2 separate regions of the Homo sapiens genome follow, and region 1 is linked to region 2. Evidence: promoter capture Hi-C in 16 types of primary human blood cells and fetal thymus (Javierre and others, 2016). All regions are on one chromosome and are shown on one strand. The core of a region is centred on a gene start or on the middle of the fragment in contact, and the rest is flanking DNA. Distances in the headings are between cores, read along the strand shown.

Region 1 (4,882 bases), core at 134-2,633, 330 kb before region 2:
TAGTAGAGGAAGTCTTGATGAGATAGAAACCTCCTTCAAGATTTCCACATTGACTCAAGAGGTAACTGCCTGACGCTTAAAGTTTCCCTCGATATCTCCTCTTACCTGTCTACTCTAGACCTTGAAAGGTGTAATATCTAGGAAAACATCCATAGCAAGGGAGATCAAAAGCTTCCCATCACCCAACTCTAGAGGGCTCTGCTGTCTTCTGTCTGAACAAAGCTGGAAAAGGAGAACTCTTCTCACTGTCAGTCAATGGGCAAGCTTTTGAGTCCCCCATGCAACCACATCTAGGGGGAATAGAGACACCTCTCATCAATCTGCAACTGCAGTACAGGAGGGGGCAATTCCAATGCCCCTTCCTCCCTGACCGCCTTTGTTGTCCCCACTGCTGCTGCACTCACCTGTCAATGGCGATGGCCAGCAGGGCATTGGTGGAGACATAGAGAGAGACAGTGCGCAGGTAGTTGACAGAGGTGCACAGGACGTGGCCGTGCTCCCAGGAGAGCTGGCGCACCACATAGTAGTCCATCTCAAAGGGGCAGCAGACAATGGCCACCAGGAAGTCAGAGATGGCCAGGTTGGCGATGAGCAGGTTGGTGAGGTTGCGCAGTTTCTTGTAGCGGACCAGGGCAGCGATAAAGATGAAGTTTCCAATGCCGCAGACCAGCATGATGCCCACCAGGGCCATCCCAATGACAATCTTGGCAGCAAAGAACGTCCTGGAATTGGTCACATCCTCATCTTCATCCAAAGGCATATCATAGTCGCTGTAGCTGAAGTTGAATGGGAAGGAAGTGGCATGGGCTCCATGAGGGTTGAGCACAGAAAGGAAGCTGGTGGAAGTGTTGGTGGCATTGTCATCCATGAACCCCATGGTGGTCTCCATCTGGCCAGGTGGTGCTGTGAGCAACACTGCTCAGAATTCCCCAGGGCAATGTCTGCAAGGCTGATGTCACCCCTCTCTGCTATCAGCCAGCTCTCCCTTAATGAGTCAGAATGTCTCTGCCAGCATCTTTGGGGTATGGTATCTGAGCTCCATTCTAAACCTTTGAAAGACATACAAACAGTTGGCTATATGTTGCAGTAAAGCTGGCCAAATTCAAAACCACCCTGTAACCTAAGCAGACCTATTAGCTCCCTGCCCAGAGTGAACATAGGGTGATGGAGTGGAAATAAAGGAACCAATGAGAGAAAATGAATGAAAACCACATACTCAATTAGGGAAGGGTGGATTGCTATAGAGACAATCAAGCACTGGCTCAGTTTATTTCTGTTCCACTGAAGACTCAGAAGTGTTGCACCTTTTCTCAAGGACAAAAGTTGGGAGTGTGGGGAGGCTGAAGAGAAAGAAATTTCTTTAAATGCTATTTAAGAGGGAGGGCTTTCAGACAAGCCTGTCTGCTCTCCTTGCTCTTCTGGCAGAACATGGCTCTAAAATCACAGAGCCATAGAGCAGCCACCTTCCTCACTATTTGCTGGACTTCCTGTTCCCACATTAGAACCTGCTATGACCCTAGAAGCTGGGAACAGCATTTATGAAGGCCTGTCCCCAGACAGAGGCTGTAGGGTAAAGTCACAGCCTGTGACTAACCAAGTGATGAGAATGGGGACGCTAGAGCAAAATTTTTCCTTGGCTGGTTGAGTGTCCAGGGGTAAATAGCTTAAACACTCAGAGGTTCAACTTCTGCCAGGCAGGAGATCAATAATGTCTGCACAGCCTGGAGCTCCCTGGAGGAGAGTGTTACACCCTAGAACTGCAAGGAGTTACTACTGCGCTCTCAGGCCTCCTCTGTCAGCTGCAAGGAAGGGGAGCGAAATCCTGATACAGGGACTCCACCACACCACATAATGGGGCTGGGGTGAGGGGTCTAGGGGGGTGTCAGCTGCCCTGGTGGGGACAGGGAGGCAGCCAGAGTCCCCCTGTCCCCTGCTCTCTCCCTGCAGTCCCTCCCAAACCCTGAAGACATCAGACCAGGGAGTGGGACGTAGAAGGAGGGCTGAGGTCTGGAGAGCACCCTAAAACAAATGTCAGGAGAACAGAGGGAAGAATGCAAGCCAGAGTTTTCCTGGGAAAGGAAGATGAGGAAGATGCCCAGGACCCCACCTCCCCACCCCCAGGAAAGCCTGCTCTCCATATTCCTCCGAGGCAAAACATCTGGAGCCTGTCTTCTTGGGGCCAAGTTTAAAGTCCCTCTGCGCCCCAGTGAGGCTCAGCCCCATTGCTGCCTCTCTGTCCTAACTCCTTACCCTGATTTTTTCCTTCCTCCGAGCTCTCAATTCTGTCTGGCTCAGCCCTTGCCCTCTGCCCACTCAGGGAGGAGAGGCAGAACTCAGCTGAAAAGAAGGAGGGGGGCAGGCTTGGAACCCAGGCGGGACAAGCCCCACTCCTTGCAGGTCCCGTGGGTCGCAGAGGCATGCCACTCCTGGAGGGGTACCCCTACAAGCATGCTACCTGAAGGGTCAAAGTAGTGTTTAAAAGCAAAGAATACAGAAGCTTCGGGGGTGGAGAGGAGGGCGTCACGAGATTAAGGATGATTGTCCAGAGGTCTTTTCTCCTTTATTCTCACCGTTCAGAGGGGAACCCCAATCCTACCCCCACCTGGTGACCTCTCGATCGCTAGAAGCCTCTCTCACAAACCCCTGCTGGCAAGTCCCCCGCCTGCTCCCAACTTTCTCCCTGGAGCCTGGGCAGCTTCCCCTAAGGACAGAGGAGGGGAAGCCTGGCTCTCCTGAAGAAACTCACAGGAGTGAATCCCTGGCAAAGTCCCCTCTTCACTCAGAAGCCGCCGCACCCCACGGCCGCAGCCAGTGCAGCGCGGGGTCCCTGGAGCATCCTCCCCGGGAGGGCGCGCTCTGTACCTGCGGCATCGCGGAGCCCGGCAGGCAAGGTCCGGGTTTCTTATTCCGGGGCCGGATCAGGAGACGCTTCTTCCAGAAGCCGGCAGGCGAAGGGCAGGTCCCCGCTCCCTTCCTCCTCTGCTCGGGGCTCTTTCCCGGCTCTGGCGGGGGAGTTACCTTCGCGCCGCCGCTGCAGATCCCCCGACCCGGCCCGCGCCGGACTCCCTGTCCCCGCCTCCGGTGGCCGTGAGGCGCCGAGGTGCGGGCTCTTGGCGAGGCGTGTCGCCAGCTGGGCTGCAGAGGCCGGGATCGCCCTGGGCGGGAGCGTCCGGATCGCCCTGGGCGGGAGCGTCTGGAGCTCCCAGGCGGCAGCTCGCGACGAGGACGCGCGGGAGGGAGCCGGGCCAGGCGGGCTGCGCGTTGCCCGGCTCAGGCTTCGGAACGGCCGCCTGGGGCAGGAACGGGGTCGCTGGGGCTCCGGGCAGGGCTCTGCGTCAATCCCGCGCCGGGGGCACCCATGCAGGGCGGCTGTGCCCGCCTCGGGGCACGGGGCTCCTCGGCGGCTCACCTTGGCAGCCCAGCGCCGTCGGAGTGGACGGACACGGCCCCGCTCAGCCGCGAGCTTGCAAAGGACCGAGGAGCCTCCCCCGCTGCTCACACACCTCCTCAGGGGACACTCAGGGGCCGGCCCCAACCTGGTCCCCTGGGCCAGCCTGAACGGACACCAGGGCCATCTTTGTTGCCAGCTGCCCTACCTCTCCGTAAAAGAGGCTCAGAGAAGTGCTTTCTGGAGAGCAAACAAGGGGGCGGGGTAGCACACTGGAGAGAGGAAGGACCCCCGCCCAGGGATGTCTGCTTAGAAGGCTGGGACGGACAGCGCTGACTTACAGAGCACAGTCTACCTTTACAAGCCCATAGATTCCTCAAAACGTGAGGCATATAGTCCCGCAATCCCACTCCAAGGTATGTAACCCCAAACTATTGAAAGCAGGGACACACATACACTGATGTTCATGGCAGCACTATTCACAGTAGCCAAAAGACAGAAACAACCCAAATGTCCATCAGCTAAGTGGATTAACAAAATACATATAGTATATACATGCAATAGAATATTATCCAGCTGTAAAAAGAAATGATAACAAGTGTTGGTGAGAATGTGGAGAAACTGGAACCCTGTGCACTGTCGGTAGGAAAGTAAAATGGTGAAGCCACTGTAGAAAACAGTATAGGGTTTCCTCAAAAAGTTAAAAAATACAATTACCATATGATCGAGTGTTTCCACTTCCGGGTGTCTAACCCAAAAAATTAAAAGCAGGGTGATACGGTTTGGCTGTGTCCCCACCCAAATCTCAACTTGAATTGTATCTCCCAGAATTCCCACGTATTGTGGGAGGGACCCAGGGGAAGGTAATTGAATCATGGGAGCCTGTTTTTCCCATGCTATTCTCGTGATAGTGAATAAGCCTGACGAGATCCTGTGGGTTTATCAGGGGTTTCCACTTTTGCTTCTCCCTCAGTTTCCTCTTGATGCTACCACGTAAGGAATGCCTTTCACCTCCTGCCTTGATTCTGAGGCCTCCCCAGTCATGTGGAACTGTAAGTCCAATTAAACCTCCTTTTGTTCCCAGTTTCCGGTATGTCTTTATCAGCAGTGTGCAAGTGAACTAATACACAGGGTCTCAAAGGCATGTTTGTACATCCATGTTCATAGCAGCATTATTCACCATAGCGAAAACATGGAAACAATCCAAATGTCCATCAATGATGAAGGGACAAACAAAATGCTCCACATACACACATACACTCACATGGGAACTTCCAAAAGTTTGTGGGAAAATGGAATTAAAAGATAAAAATACATAAACTTTAGCTCTCAGCATAAGCTCCATCACGTTCAAGATGCTTTTGTAATGATGGCAGACATTTAGTCCATCTCTAAAGGACTAAGGATCCTGGGAATTTTTCTATTTTATTTATTTATTTTTATTTTTTTGTTAAAACAGGGTCTGGCTAGGTTGCTCAGGCTGGTCTCAAACTC
Region 2 (5,548 bases), core at 637-3,136:
AAGTGATCTTCCCACCTTAGCCTCCCAAGTAGTGGGGACTGCAAGAGTGCACTACCTAGCCAGGCTAGAACCAGAGTTTTTGTTTTTGTTTTTGTGTGGGTTTTTTTTTTTTTTTTCAGATGGAGTCTCACTTTGTTGCCCAGACTGGAGTGCAGTGGCATGATCTCGGCTCACTATAAGCTCTGCCTCCCCAGCTCAAGCGATTCTCATGCCTCAGCCTCCCAAGTAGCTGGGACTACAGGCATGCGCCACCACGCCTGGCTAATTTTTTGTATTTTTAGTAGAGACAGGTTTTGCCATTTTGGCGAGGCTGGTCTTGAACTCCTGGCCTCAAATGATCTGCCCTCCTTGGTCTCCCAAAGTGCTGGGATTCCAGGCATGAGCCACCATGCCGGCCTTAGAACCAGGTTTTAAAATGGAGTCATCATCCTCCAGGTCCAATGCTCTTTTTGATACACAGGTGGAAGTTGGCTTGAGATTGTGGGGTTGCTAAACAAAAGGTTGAGGAAAAAAGGCAAAATTTCCAAAAAGGCTTTTAAATGACCCCAAAAAGATACTCACCCTCTTTCCACTACTCATAAACCATAATAACCAACATTAAGTTTACTGTGTAACTCTCTCATTCTTTTAAAAGAGCTAATACAAACATACACATTTATATTCTTTTTAAATTTTCATTTTTCTAAAACACTAGAGATGCTACTTGCAATTAGATTTCTTTTCATCATTCCAGGTAAATCGCAAGGATCTAATTAATTTTAAAGATGTGAAAGAATTTACATATGGACATGATTAAGACCACAACCGTAAGTCAATTCAACAACGATTTCTGGAGCACCTACTATGTGTCAGGCACTATTTTGGCATGCTGGGGAAACAGCAACAAACAAAACAGACAAAATGCTCGCCCTCAGGCTTTGTTTCCCAGCCATCCCACTTTTATCATTAACAGTTTTTGCCTGTGTGTTTGCCAATGCAACCTATATTTCATTATTTTGATAGTTGTGTAACGTTCTATAGTGTGGGTATATAAGAATTTATTCAGCCATTTATTTATTGGTTAACATTTCATTTAGGTTTTATTTTTATTTTTGCAACCAATGTTGCAATAAACACCCATATTACATATATATTATATGTATAGCTTATTATTTCTTAAAAAAGAGCAGTCTAACTTGGGTAAACAAAAACTGCCAAGGAAACGCATCCCTACCCATTTGTTCTCACTAGCCCACTTCATTTCCCAGGTGTGCTCCCTGGCTCTGGTACTATCCATCTGGGTGGTGCTGAAGCAGGTGCTCTCTCTGCTCCGGGAAGCCATTCCCAGTATAGTCCTCACCCCCTGAGTCTCCCCTCGCTTCCAAAAGTCAGCTGTCTACCGACCTCTGCCACGAAAACTGTCTAATCACGCTTAATATGCAAATCTAAACTCTGCGGTGTCGCATATGGCCCCCTGCCAATAATCCTTTGACCCATCCCACCTCTTGGCCATTTTGTCACCAGAATGCCTTAGGCTCATGTCAGTTGCCTTTTACAGGGTTAATAGCTCACCCTTCAAAATCTGTGTAAATATATGTGATTCATTACATATATTTATGTATGTGTCATTTTTGGGACGAGCATACGTATAATGGAAATGTACACCCACAAGAAGATGTAGCTCCTTGAATATGGTTATTTTCTTCCTCTTGCATCCATTCCTCATCCAGCGTGGCTCCATCACGTGGAATTGCGCCTTTCCTCGGCCATTTCCCCTAAGCTTTGGAAAGACTCATATTTCCTGAAATTTAAATCACCGGCTAGCGGTTTCCTGTCCCCCCTTCCCGCCTCCCTTTACCCCCCCTCAGCCTCCTCCCGCCTGGCTGGCGCCGGATCCGCGAGCAGCAGTGTCCACCTCACGTAGCTGGCCGAGGCGGTATCCAGATTCCGGGGGTCTCGCTCCTTGGCATAGTGGTCGCTTAACTCCAGCGCCTTCCCAGTGCCTCCCAAACCTCTCCTCCTCCTGCCCGGGGCTGTTCTAGGAGGAGCCTAAATGTCCGCTTCCCCAGCTGAAGGGGATTGTGGTGCGTAAACAGGATTAACTCCCTCGCCCCCAGCTGCGCGGATCTGCGCGGCGGCCTGCGGGCCAGAGCGAGCCTTCGGGTGCGTGGAGGGCGCAGCACTGGAGCGGGGGATGGGGAAGCGCGCGGCCTTGGAGCCGTCTCTTGGGCCCGCTTCCTCGCCGAGTGGGGAGGGGGGCCACAGCCTAAGGAGCTGCTCCTCAAAAGCCCGGGCGGACGGCGGCGACGGCGCGGGTTCCTAGCGGCAGCCTCAGCTCCACCACCTCCCTCACCCTCCCCGCGCTTCCTCTCCGCCCCTCGCGCTCCAGCCACTCGGCCGCAGCCGGCGCTGTCCTCCGCCCCCCGGAGCCGCCGCGCCAGACCCTCGCCCAGACATGGGGGACCTGCCGGGCCTCGTGCGCCTCTCCATCGCGCTGCGCATCCAGCCTAATGACGGCCCGGTCTTTTACAAGGTGGACGGGCAGCGCTTCGGCCAGAACCGCACCATCAAGCTGCTCACCGGCTCCTCCTACAAGGTTGAGGTGAAGATTAAACCCAGCACGCTGCAGGTCGAGTGAGTGCGGGGCGCCTGGTGGCAGCAGGGTCCCCCATGGGGTACAGGCAGAGGACTGAGGCCCCCAGGACAGCCCGAGCCTCTCAAGGGCCTCTGGCCTCGCGCCGCTCCCAGCGGGCCCGGGGGTTGGAGGAAGAGGTCACTCCCTGTCCGCCTTCGTCCCCTTCCTTCCCTTTGGCTTGTATTCCTCCATTCTCGCTTCCCTCCACCCATCGCAGTGACCTCAGTGGGTTCTTTAAAATCAGTGACAAGAAGCCAGGGTTTTTGCTTGTCTGTTTCTTATAAATTTCTCCTGCCTTCTGTCCAGCCTTGGGCGCGGAACCGCAGGCGGTCGGGGTGGAGCAGATGGGAGAGGTCCGCAGGGTTCAGCCACCGCAATCCCAGCCCTCCTGCGCGCGGTCCAGGCGGCCCACAGGGTCTGCCCGCAAGGCTGAAGGAGGGAGAAAGGAGGAATGAGGTGGAAAGGCAGGGGAGGGGTGATTACTGGGGCTCCCTGAGGGATGCTCCCCACTCCCTTCGCCATTCAGTGGCTGGGACCCTGGGGTGGAGCAGCAGACACTAGTAAGAGAGCGGCCGCCCCTTCTCTGGCCTAGTTTCACGGTTTTCCATGCCGTATGCTGTTCTTTTTCTCCTGAGTTTTCTGTTCAGGCTGGTGATGGTGCCTGGGATTAGCAACATCCCCACAGCAAGAGGATGTTTTTTGGTTTATCCATGGCAGGGACGATTTCTTGCCAGCGACCGCTGGATAATGCACCCAGTAGACCTCTGGCGGGAAAGTGTGTGGGAGCATGCAGTAGCCTACCCGGAAGAACTGCGGGTGGAGCCCCTTTACCTCTCGTTTCTACCTACCAAAGTCTAGTCTGCAGAGAGAAAATAAACCAGCATTTATTGTATCTACTACATATGGTGGGCATTATTGCGGGGGTGGAAGGACTTTGAATTCATCAGATACTACTTATAGCTTACGTTTTAATTCAGTAAACTTGTATTAGCCTTCCAAGGTGCAAGGACCTAGAACCAAATCTGGATGGTTTCTGGTACTCCTGATTCATCTATTTGTCAGCATCCCCCACAGCTCCATGCACCCTTTATTCTCACATTTCCCAGTGTTCTGTGCACCTGGATATAATCCAGGCTTTTCCTTTCCCTTCTTTCCTGCCAACCTTATCCCCGGAGTTATCTGTTAATATATTTCTTTTTTTTTTTTTTAGAGTATTCCTCTAGTGTTCAAACTAATCTAAAAGTTAATTTGTTAGGAATAAAACTATTTTTTCTGGTTACATTTTAATGCTATCAAGGATTTCTCAACTCTAATCCTGTGGTTCTCAAACCTGAGTATATATCAGAATCACCTGGAGTGCTTGTTAAAACACAGATGCTGGAGCTCTCCCTAGAAGTTCTAGTTTAGTCTATGGTAGGGCCTAAGAATTTGTTTTCTAAGGTCTGCAGGTGATGCTGATACTGCTGGTCCAGGGACTTGGCTTTGAGAACCATTATCCTAACACAAAAGAATGATGCCAGTGAGAATTTCTGATGGTGTAGAAGGCTTGAGGTACTCCAAATCATAGGACCCCTGATTGTTGGAACAGGAGAAAAAAAATATTAGAGGACGAGTTCAGTATTCTCAATCCTACCTGCATATTAAGATCACCTAGATAACCTTAAAATAAATGTACCAGTGTCCAAACTACATCCCAGGCCAACTGAATCCTAATGTCTGGGGCTGGGGATAGGTAGGTTTTTAATTCATAAATAGGAGAAGCACTGCCCCCTGAACTTGCAGAACTTTCTCCCGCACCACAATGCCCCCCTTAGTGAAACCCTGTAAGTTTCCTGCCTAGAGTTTTGGTCCAAAACAGGACAGGGTGCCTAGGCTAATTTCAACCGTATGTGGTCAACTCAAGTCTATTGCAGGAATATTTCCATTGGTGGTGTGCTTGTCCCACTGGAACTGAAGTCTAAAGAGCCTGATGGGGACAGAGTTGTTTATACGGGTACATATGACACAGAAGGTGTGACCCCAACGAAGAGTGGAGAACGGCAACCCATCCAGATCACCATGCCGGTAAGGCTTGCTTGCGGGTATAGGAGTATGGTGCCATGGAAAATGGAAACCACAGAAAAGAAAACAATCACTATCTCTCTGTAAGAAAAGGTGTGTTGGGAGCCAATTACTGTGGAAATTGAGTTGTGGATTTCCTTCAAGCATCTGCTGGAGAGAGAACTACTTAATTAATGCTCTTTTGCATGACAGACTGACCCTGTAGATGCTGAAAAGACACCATAAGCAGAAGCAGATGGTTCTGGAAGAGACAGAACCTACATTGCCATTTTCCCAGTTATAGTCTACTTCAGAACTGGTTTAGATAATTGGCTGTGAAAAGTTTCTGATTCCAAGTAGGCCACAATATTCTGGTTAAGAGAAAGCTGATTTGAATGACACTTTGCTACTTAAAGCTAAATGGAGGAGCCAAAAAAAGTGTCATGGGAAAAATACACCTCTTATATAATATCCTATAATACACCTATTTTATATAATATATACCTATTATATATACACCTATATAATATATATATACCTATATTATATATACCTATTATATATAATATCTGGTAATCCTATCAGATATCATATATAATAAAATGATATACCCTGGTAATATGGCCCCAAGTAAGAAAAAACAAATTGGTAGAAAGGATAGAGTCAAGACATAGATTTAACTATATGTGCAAACATAATAAATAGGTGATGAAGCAAGCTTGCTAAAGCACAGGAAAAGGAAGCTTCACCTAAACTGCTGCTTGCAAACTGGGCAGCCTTTTCCCTCTGCAAGAACAACCTTCAACTGTCTGCCCTCTAGCTTTATAGGAAGTATCACAAGGGTTCTCAAATATCGGTATGCGTGAGAATCTCTTTGGGAGTTTGTTTAAAATT

The links. Contacts are between HindIII fragments. The CHiCAGO score rates a contact against its expected background, and 5 or more counts as called.
Region 1: a contact is called between a fragment that was not itself captured here and the fragment with the promoter of CNRIP1 in region 2, in 1 of 17 cell types (erythroblasts). The highest score is 6.5, in erythroblasts.

The regions. Positions count from the first base shown.
Region 1 is chr2:68,641,829-68,646,710 of GRCh38, reverse strand. PROKR1 (prokineticin receptor 1) reads right to left here and starts at 3,132. Exons shown (of 3, transcript NM_138964.4): 1 at 2,863-3,132; 2 at 405-1,049. The coding sequence starts at 889. The HindIII fragment of the contact is 2,233 bases long and covers 267-2,499 here.
Region 2 is chr2:68,316,287-68,321,834 of GRCh38, reverse strand. CNRIP1 (cannabinoid receptor interacting protein 1) reads left to right here and starts at 1,886. Exons shown (of 3, transcript NM_015463.3): 1 at 1,886-2,613; 2 at 4,528-4,678. The coding sequence starts at 2,435. The HindIII fragment of the contact is 3,613 bases long and covers 1,762-5,374 here.